Regions from separate parts of the Homo sapiens genome. Here region 1 is linked to region 2. The links are contacts of gene promoters, found by promoter capture Hi-C in human tissues and cell types (Jung and others, 2019). All regions are on one chromosome and are shown on one strand. The core of a region is centred on a gene start or on the middle of the fragment in contact, and the rest is flanking DNA. Distances in the headings are between cores, read along the strand shown.

Region 1 (3,752 bases), core at 357-2,856, 1.9 Mb after region 2:
ACATACAAATGACAAAGAGGAGCTGTGCAAAACCGCTGTGGAATAAGCCAGTTTATGTTTGTAGTGTACTAGTTATATGGCATTTCCAATAGGGAATTTCCTATTGAAGTGAAACACAGTTGTTTAGGAAGAAATAAATGCTGAAATAATGCACATAGTGAATTCAGGGATGGAGAAAACACTCTCAAATAATTTTTTTAACTAAGAAAATTCCAGGCAGCACCTAAAAGCATGATTGCTTTCACTAGACACTTTAAATTACTGTCTATAAAACTTCTTGATCCTCTTTTAATGCCCAAACCTTTTAGAGGAATTTACAAACTCTTTATTTTTGGCTTCTCAGAATGAGTGGTTTAGGTTCACCCCACAAAACTGGAGGGATTAGCCCATCAAAAGATGGACACATATGGAAAGGTACTTCCACTTGCCCTTAATACCCTTCACAGTGATCCTCAAAGTGTGGTTCTTGGACCAGCAGTACCATCATCACCAGAGAACTTGTTAGAAATGTAAATCCTTGGACACTCACCCAAATATACTGAATCAAGAATGCTGGAGTTGGGACCCAGCAAGCTGCACTTTTACAAGTCCTCTAGGTGATTTGGAGGCTTGCTACATTTGTGAATCACTGCTCTAGTCCCGGAGGTAAAGATTGATGAAAAAAAATAAGAAAAGCAATAATAATAAAGAAAGAAGAGAACATTTAGAAAAAAAAAGATCAGCATTCACTTTCTCTTTGAATAAGTGAATGAACATTCCTTGGGGGTGTAATAGTTAGGCTCCTATCCCTTTCAATACAACATATATTTGTCGAGAATCCAATTAGTGCCACGGACTGTGCTAAGTGTAGCATATTCAAAAGGGGAAAAATTCTGTGGATTTTCTGTGTTCTCAAAAGAAGAAGAAAAAAATGAAGAAAAAGAAAAAAGTATTGTTCGTCTTAAAGGTAAATAATATGTTGTGCTTTTGAAGAATTAGATGGGCTTGGCTGTTTATGGTTCCAATGCCAGATGAAATGCTCAGTGAACACCCCTGCAACAAGTACAGTGAAGGGTCGTAGCTCCACTCAGCCTGGCCATGCATCCTAAATTCCGAGGCCACAAATGTTCCAGAGACACTAGCCTTTTTTCACGAGGCATAATCACCACTTATCAAGTGTCTCACCAATAAGCTTCATGTAACAGAAATGTCAAGCCCCATTTGATTCATCTTGCACTGCCCATTCTCTCTGAAGGGGATGGCTTTCAGGCCCTCCATCCATCTCGCCTGATGATCCCTTGGAGCTCAACTAGAGAAATCATCCCTCAGACTCTGACACCTTTGAAACCCAAGAGCATTTCAGTAAAGCATCGGAAATGTCAGAACTCCCTCTGCTGATTCTTCTTCCTCCTATTTTATCTCTAGCACACACTTTGCTGCACTGTTTGCCACTTTTATCTTCTTTCCCTGATGGCTTTTATATATTTTTTGGTCTTGTTCAAGCTTTGAAATCACTGCTGCTCCTTTTTGTCGCCCCTCATCACTAGCTCCCTGGGTTTCATTGACCACTGCTTATCTCCACCGTGTTGCACGTGTCTTGTTGGTTATTTAATAATGCATGGCTCTCATGATCAGGAGTGGAGAGGCTCAGGTCTCAGGTCTGGCTACTGAAACTGGAGGTTTTTCCTGCTGACTTGGGTCTCCTTTGATGTACGAGGACATTTGCAGCTCAGCGGCGGATTGGTAGCTTCTTTGATGTGCTCTTCTTATTCTGATTTGATGTATGTTATATTCCTTTTATGTTCAAGAGGGACCAAATAAAGGAATGTCCCTCCTGCTTCTCACATCTAATTTTTGCCTAAGCACCCTCTGTTGCTCTTCGTGCAAGGGAGTGGTTCTTTTGACAGTGTATAATATAATTTTATTAAAGAAAAACAAATAATATCAGACAGGATGAATGTCATCATTTATGAGGTCTTAGGCAGCTCTTTATCTCTCTCCTTTGCTTCATGTTGCATTTGCATAAATGGTTCTTTAATTCAAGGAGAATTGGCTGCGGATAAATACAAGTCAAACTTGAAAGGAGTTTAATACTTGATAATCACTTATGGACATTGCGATTAAATACACTATCACTCTTTTATGTTTAAGCTACATAGCCTAAACTGAGTACTACGAGTGGATTTATCTTGAAGCCTGCAGTGTGCAGGAGTGCCGCCTGAGCTCACCTGTGGCTTATACTGGCCCAGATATTGCCTTCTCTGGAGAGTTGATAGAGGGAAATTGGCAAACGGTAATTCTGTCCTGTGCTTCCATCTTTCAGTTTCCCTCTGCACTCTAACATCTGGCCTTTCATGGGGACATAAGCAAATAAATAAAACAACAAAGAATCTGAAGAGTGTCACAAATTTATTTATTTTTTACTAATCTTTATTAGAACATCAAATGAGATTATTCTTGTTAATGAAGTTTATGGATGATGTGAGCATTATATTCATTTTTAATATCCCTGAAATTATTTAACCAGGTATTTGAGAGCTGTATATTTAGGAAACTAAATAGAAAATCTATTAATTAGGGTTAATTTGCGATCAGTAATATTTTAAAATTAAACCCACTTGTGTTCATTGAAAACTTTGGGTGGAAGGGGTTTCAATTTCAAAATCATGTTTGAATTTATTAATTTATATTTGTTTACAGTACTCACATTGCTTTCATATCCATTCGTTCATTTGAATATCATTTGGGTGAGAAAGACAGAATGGTTATTATTAGTGCTATATTACAGATGAGGTAATGAAGGCTCAAAGATCAGTATATTCTGGGACTAGAGTTTTGAGCTAATTCAGTGCTCTTTATAATACATCAAGTCCAATTTTGTACCTCTTGCAATACACAACAATTTGGCAAATAATGAATTGTTTTTTATATACACTAAAAATTGGTTAGTCATCATGACAGAAACACATAATGGGAACCATGTATGAATTCTAACACTTACATTAGAAGTATGTATTTGTTGTAGTTGATGAAAAAACAAAGTTATAAAGATATTGTAGTATACATCAAGAGGTTATTGGTAATCTATTCTTTAAATGTAACTCTGGATTCCCCTTTTTAAATCTGATTATTTCATTTTGTTATCAATAATAATTAACGCTTTTATACATGGGAAGTCCTATTTTTGTCTTATTCAACACTATGAATCAAGTAGGTTTCTTGCAAATTTTAGGATTCATCTTTTAATAATAATTACATGCAGAGACTCAAGTGTTGTCTGGTTTCCCTGTGATATAGACCATAAGAGTTGAACCTAAGAATGTCAGTCATAAGACCATGGTGGTTAAAAAAATCACACATGTAGGTCCAAGGGAAAAAAGTGCCATGTAAGCAGTAGTTCCTAATCAAATGTGTGGTGTAAAGCCATTTCAATTATTGATTAGCAGGCTTTCTTGCATAATCAGAGAATATTCAAAAATCCTTAGAAGGGGTTGAATAGTTATGTAATCCATATTGTAATCAATGCATAAAAGTGTTTATTTCTCTAAAACTGTAATCCTTGGATTTACCTATGTAGTTAGCTGGCTATAATTAGATATACTTTACACCACTGGTGTAAAGAGAAAAATTTTGCTTTCCTGGGTACATTTGGCAATGTCTAGAGATATTTTTGGTCACCACAACTAGGGGTTGCTTCTGGCATATCATGGATAGAGACCAAACATGCTACTAAACATCTTACAACACACAGGGCAGCCCCCTGCACCTAAGGA
Region 2 (3,495 bases), core at 866-3,365:
GACCTGGTGAACTTCCCAACTCCAGAATTCTGTGCAGTTATTTTCTAGTGACTGACACCGACTTCAGCCAGCTGTTTCTTTAGAAGTCTTCCCTATGGAGTAAAAATAAGAAATAACTTGTTTCCTGATAGCAGCAAGGAGAACAGAACACCACTTTACCTGACAGTGGAGAGCCCCAGACAGATACTCGCTTCCTGTTCATTCCCCTGCCATCGTACGGTAATGGGCACTGATATTAAACATGCATATTTCACAGTCTCTTGTCCCGCGATTTGGAGGATGGCCATTCACTATGTATGAACCACTCACTCATGCTCATCACACAGAGAAAATTACATTTTCCCAGTTGCCAAATGGAAGAGATAAATTATCTCACGTGGACAAGCACATTGCTCTCAAGAGCAGCTTCCAGACCTAAGATAAACAGATTAAAAAAAAAAAACAAAAACACGCTGGAGGGGGACTCTGAGCTTTCCAGGTGTTGATGGGGGTCAGTCTCTTCATTCGGACTCGCCAGATCCTCACTTTGCAGTTAGTGGGCTTAAAGTGGCGGGACATTTGCCCTTCTGTTTCTTTTGGATTAAATGAGCAGCCTTGGGGCCTCTTATTCTTCCTTCATAGAAGAGATGTTATAAAAATGAATAAATCAACACAAAACATTTCATATTTATGCCTACTTGCTGAATTGATACTACTTGTAATGAAAATCAAGGAAGCAAAATGTTAAAATGTTCTCTTTGGGGAAGACACATTGGAATGTCTTACCACAGATATACACACACTCGCTTGTTACACACTCCTTCCTTATCCCTAACTATTCTCTGAGGTTAATGAAGGTCCTGATAACTGCAGTCTCTAACTTAGCATATCATCCTAAACCTACTACCTGCACACATAGGAGTCGCAGCGCAACTATGTACTAATGGCAGCCAACACTCATTACCCTTCATACCACCATCACTGTGCAAACCCTTAGTGCATTTTCCAATATGATCCCACAATCCTTCATTTTTATGTTTTGCCCACGCTAAAATTCGACAGCGAATTCTTGCAACAATTATTAAGCGTCTGGAATTGTATTAGGGTCTGGGGGTAGAGGTGGGGGACGAAGCGGGAATAACTGCAGTACACAGCAGACCCTATGAAAGTGCCAAAACGCAGGTCTCACTCGGAAGGCTTTGGGAGTTGGGAGAGGAGAAGGCTCATGGGCAGCTAAAGCCACCAGTGACCTCATTATGCAATATTTAGGTTATCAGACTTTTCTATGCCTAGAAAAGCAGCGCCTCAACCATTCCAACGGGACGCACCGCGTTCAGTGACGACCCTCATCGGTGCCCACAGCTCTGGGCTCGCTGAAGGCACCACAGAAGCACCAGTTATTACCAGTGTTAGGGTCCAGTGGCTTCTTCTGTCCCTTTCCTCTGGATCCCAAAGTGTTGGTTCTCTTTTGTTAGTTTTATTCCGGTCATGCCAATGAGCACAGATTCACAGCCCAGGCGGCCCGCTCGGAATCCCAGGCCGGCTGGGGACCGGTGCACTTGGGCTCCGCGCCCCCTCGACCCTCGGCCCAGTGCCCCTTCCCGCGCGCGCGGGTCTCCCCGGTTCCAGAGCCCACCGGTCCCCGCCGGCTCCTTCTCCCCACCCACCCTCCCACCGGGCCCCCGGCGGCTGCAGCCGCGCGGGGCTGGCGGGGCGGCGACCGGGCTCAGGCAGATCCCCGCTTCCCGCCTTCTCGGCGCCCCCTCCCTCCCGGACGGAGCCCGAGGATCCCCCACCCACGGCGGGCGTGAGGAAGGGCTTCTGAGTGACTGGAGCTCTACCGCGTGTGCCCCGGGAAGGCCAGGCTACCCGGGACGGGGCTCGGCTCCCCAGGTGAGCTCGTCTCCGCGGGACTGGGTCCGGGAAGGCCCCAGGACCGCGCGGCTGAGCGGCCTGGAGGCTGCGGGAGGGCAGAGCAGGGCGCGCGGGAGACTGCCGCCCCCGGGCGCCCAGGGCCCGGCTCCCCAGCGCCACCGCCGCAGCAGGTGGGGGCCCAGTGGGCGGGGGCGGGGCCCGGCTCTGGGCGGAGCCGAGGCGGCGGCGGCGCAGGCTGGGGCCGGGGCCGGGGCGGGAGCCGGAGCCCGAGCTGGAGCAGCGAGCCGGGCTGTCGGGGCGACCGCGGGAGCTCGCCGTGCGCCGTGGCTGGGACCGGCCTGGCCGAGCGCGCCGGCGCCGCGGCCGCAGACAAAGGGCGGCTCGCGCCCGGGCCGCCACGCTCTCGGGCTCTGCCTCGGTAAGTGGCTCCCCTCCGCTGGCTTTCTCCTCCCGCCGCCTGCGCCTCTCGGAGTTCGGCGGGCTCCGGAGAAGCGGGGAAGAGATGAGACTTCCCCGCCCGCACTGCCTCCCCACCTTACCCTAACAATAAGCCCCCCAGGCCAAGCCACTGCCAAACTAGCGAGTTTCCGAGCGGCGGGGGTCTCCCGCGGGACCCGCCCGGCTGCCCTGGGTGAGCTCCTCGCCTGCAGACCGCGCGCCGGTGCTGTCCTGGACCCGTTTGGGATGGGAGGTTGCCGCTGGGCTCCTCGCGTTGTGTTTAGGGGAGGAGGACGCAGGGGCCGGGCGCCGCTAGGGGACCCCACCCCCGGGGACAGTCCGGAGCGCTTGGGGTCGCCGAGGGGCAGTTCACACTGCGAGTTCAGATTCGGATCGCAGTCCCGATTATCCTCCCCTCCAGCCTCTCCCTTTCTCGTTGAAGGGTTAATACAGCGTCCTCTCCCCTCGCCACCCGACAGAGGCGCCTACACTGGCGGTAGGTAGCCCCTGGGAGAGGGGGAGTGGGGGGACCCCGCCGCTTTCGCCGCTGGGCGACCCAGAGCCCCAGCCTGCCGGAGAGGGCAGCGGCTCGGGTTTGACATCCCAGCTGGGTCCCGGGCCGGCTCCCTGAGCCTCCTCCCGGGTTGCTCTCTATCAGGAAAGCAATCGGAAGTCAGGCCGGCTTTTGCTTTTGTTCTGCCAGCTACTCTACGGAATCGTAGGTGAAGCCGGGGTGGGCGGATGCCCCGGGAGGGGGCTGTGGCGGGAGTTCCAGGTGCGTCCCCGAAATGACCATTGGAGGCGGCGGCTGTTTCCCGCCCCTGGGTGGGGAATGGATTCCGATCGCTAATCGATACCCTGGAGCCAGCAGTGGGTCAGCAGCGTCCCGACAGAGCGCAGCGGCCGCGTACTGTCACGCGCCTCTCCAGCACTCTCGAAAGCACTACCTCGAGACGTGCATTTCCATTCATGGATCTGTGCCTGGGGGTTGATTAATGTCACCCCTGCCTGGGTTGAGGAGTGTCCACAACTGCTCAGTAGCCATTTACTGGGAGGTTACTGTGTGCAAGGCAGCTATCTTAAATAACCTTAATGTAAAATATACTTATTGAGCACCTACTATGTGAAAAGCAGGTATACTGCAGACTTTTCAATTGAATGGATATGTATTGAGCACCTACCCCGTGCGAAGGTGAAGCGTCA

Evidence for each region. Contacts are between HindIII fragments. The study calls those that stand out against the background at their distance.
Region 1: a contact is called between a fragment that was not itself captured here and the fragment with the promoter of MAPK4 in region 2, in 1 of the 25 tissues and cell types used here (lymphoblastoid cells).

Annotation. Positions count from the first base shown.
Region 1 is chr18:52,430,630-52,434,381 of GRCh38, forward strand. The region is part of intron 1 of DCC (DCC netrin 1 receptor); the gene reads left to right. Among named protein-coding and RNA genes, the nearest start is that of DCC, 92 kb to the left of the region's middle. The HindIII fragment of the contact is 4,113 bases long and covers 1-3,663 here.
Region 2 is chr18:50,557,972-50,561,466 of GRCh38, forward strand. MAPK4 (mitogen-activated protein kinase 4) reads left to right here and starts at 2,116. Exons shown (of 6, transcript NM_002747.4): 1 at 2,116-2,272. The HindIII fragment of the contact is 20,188 bases long and covers 1-3,495 here.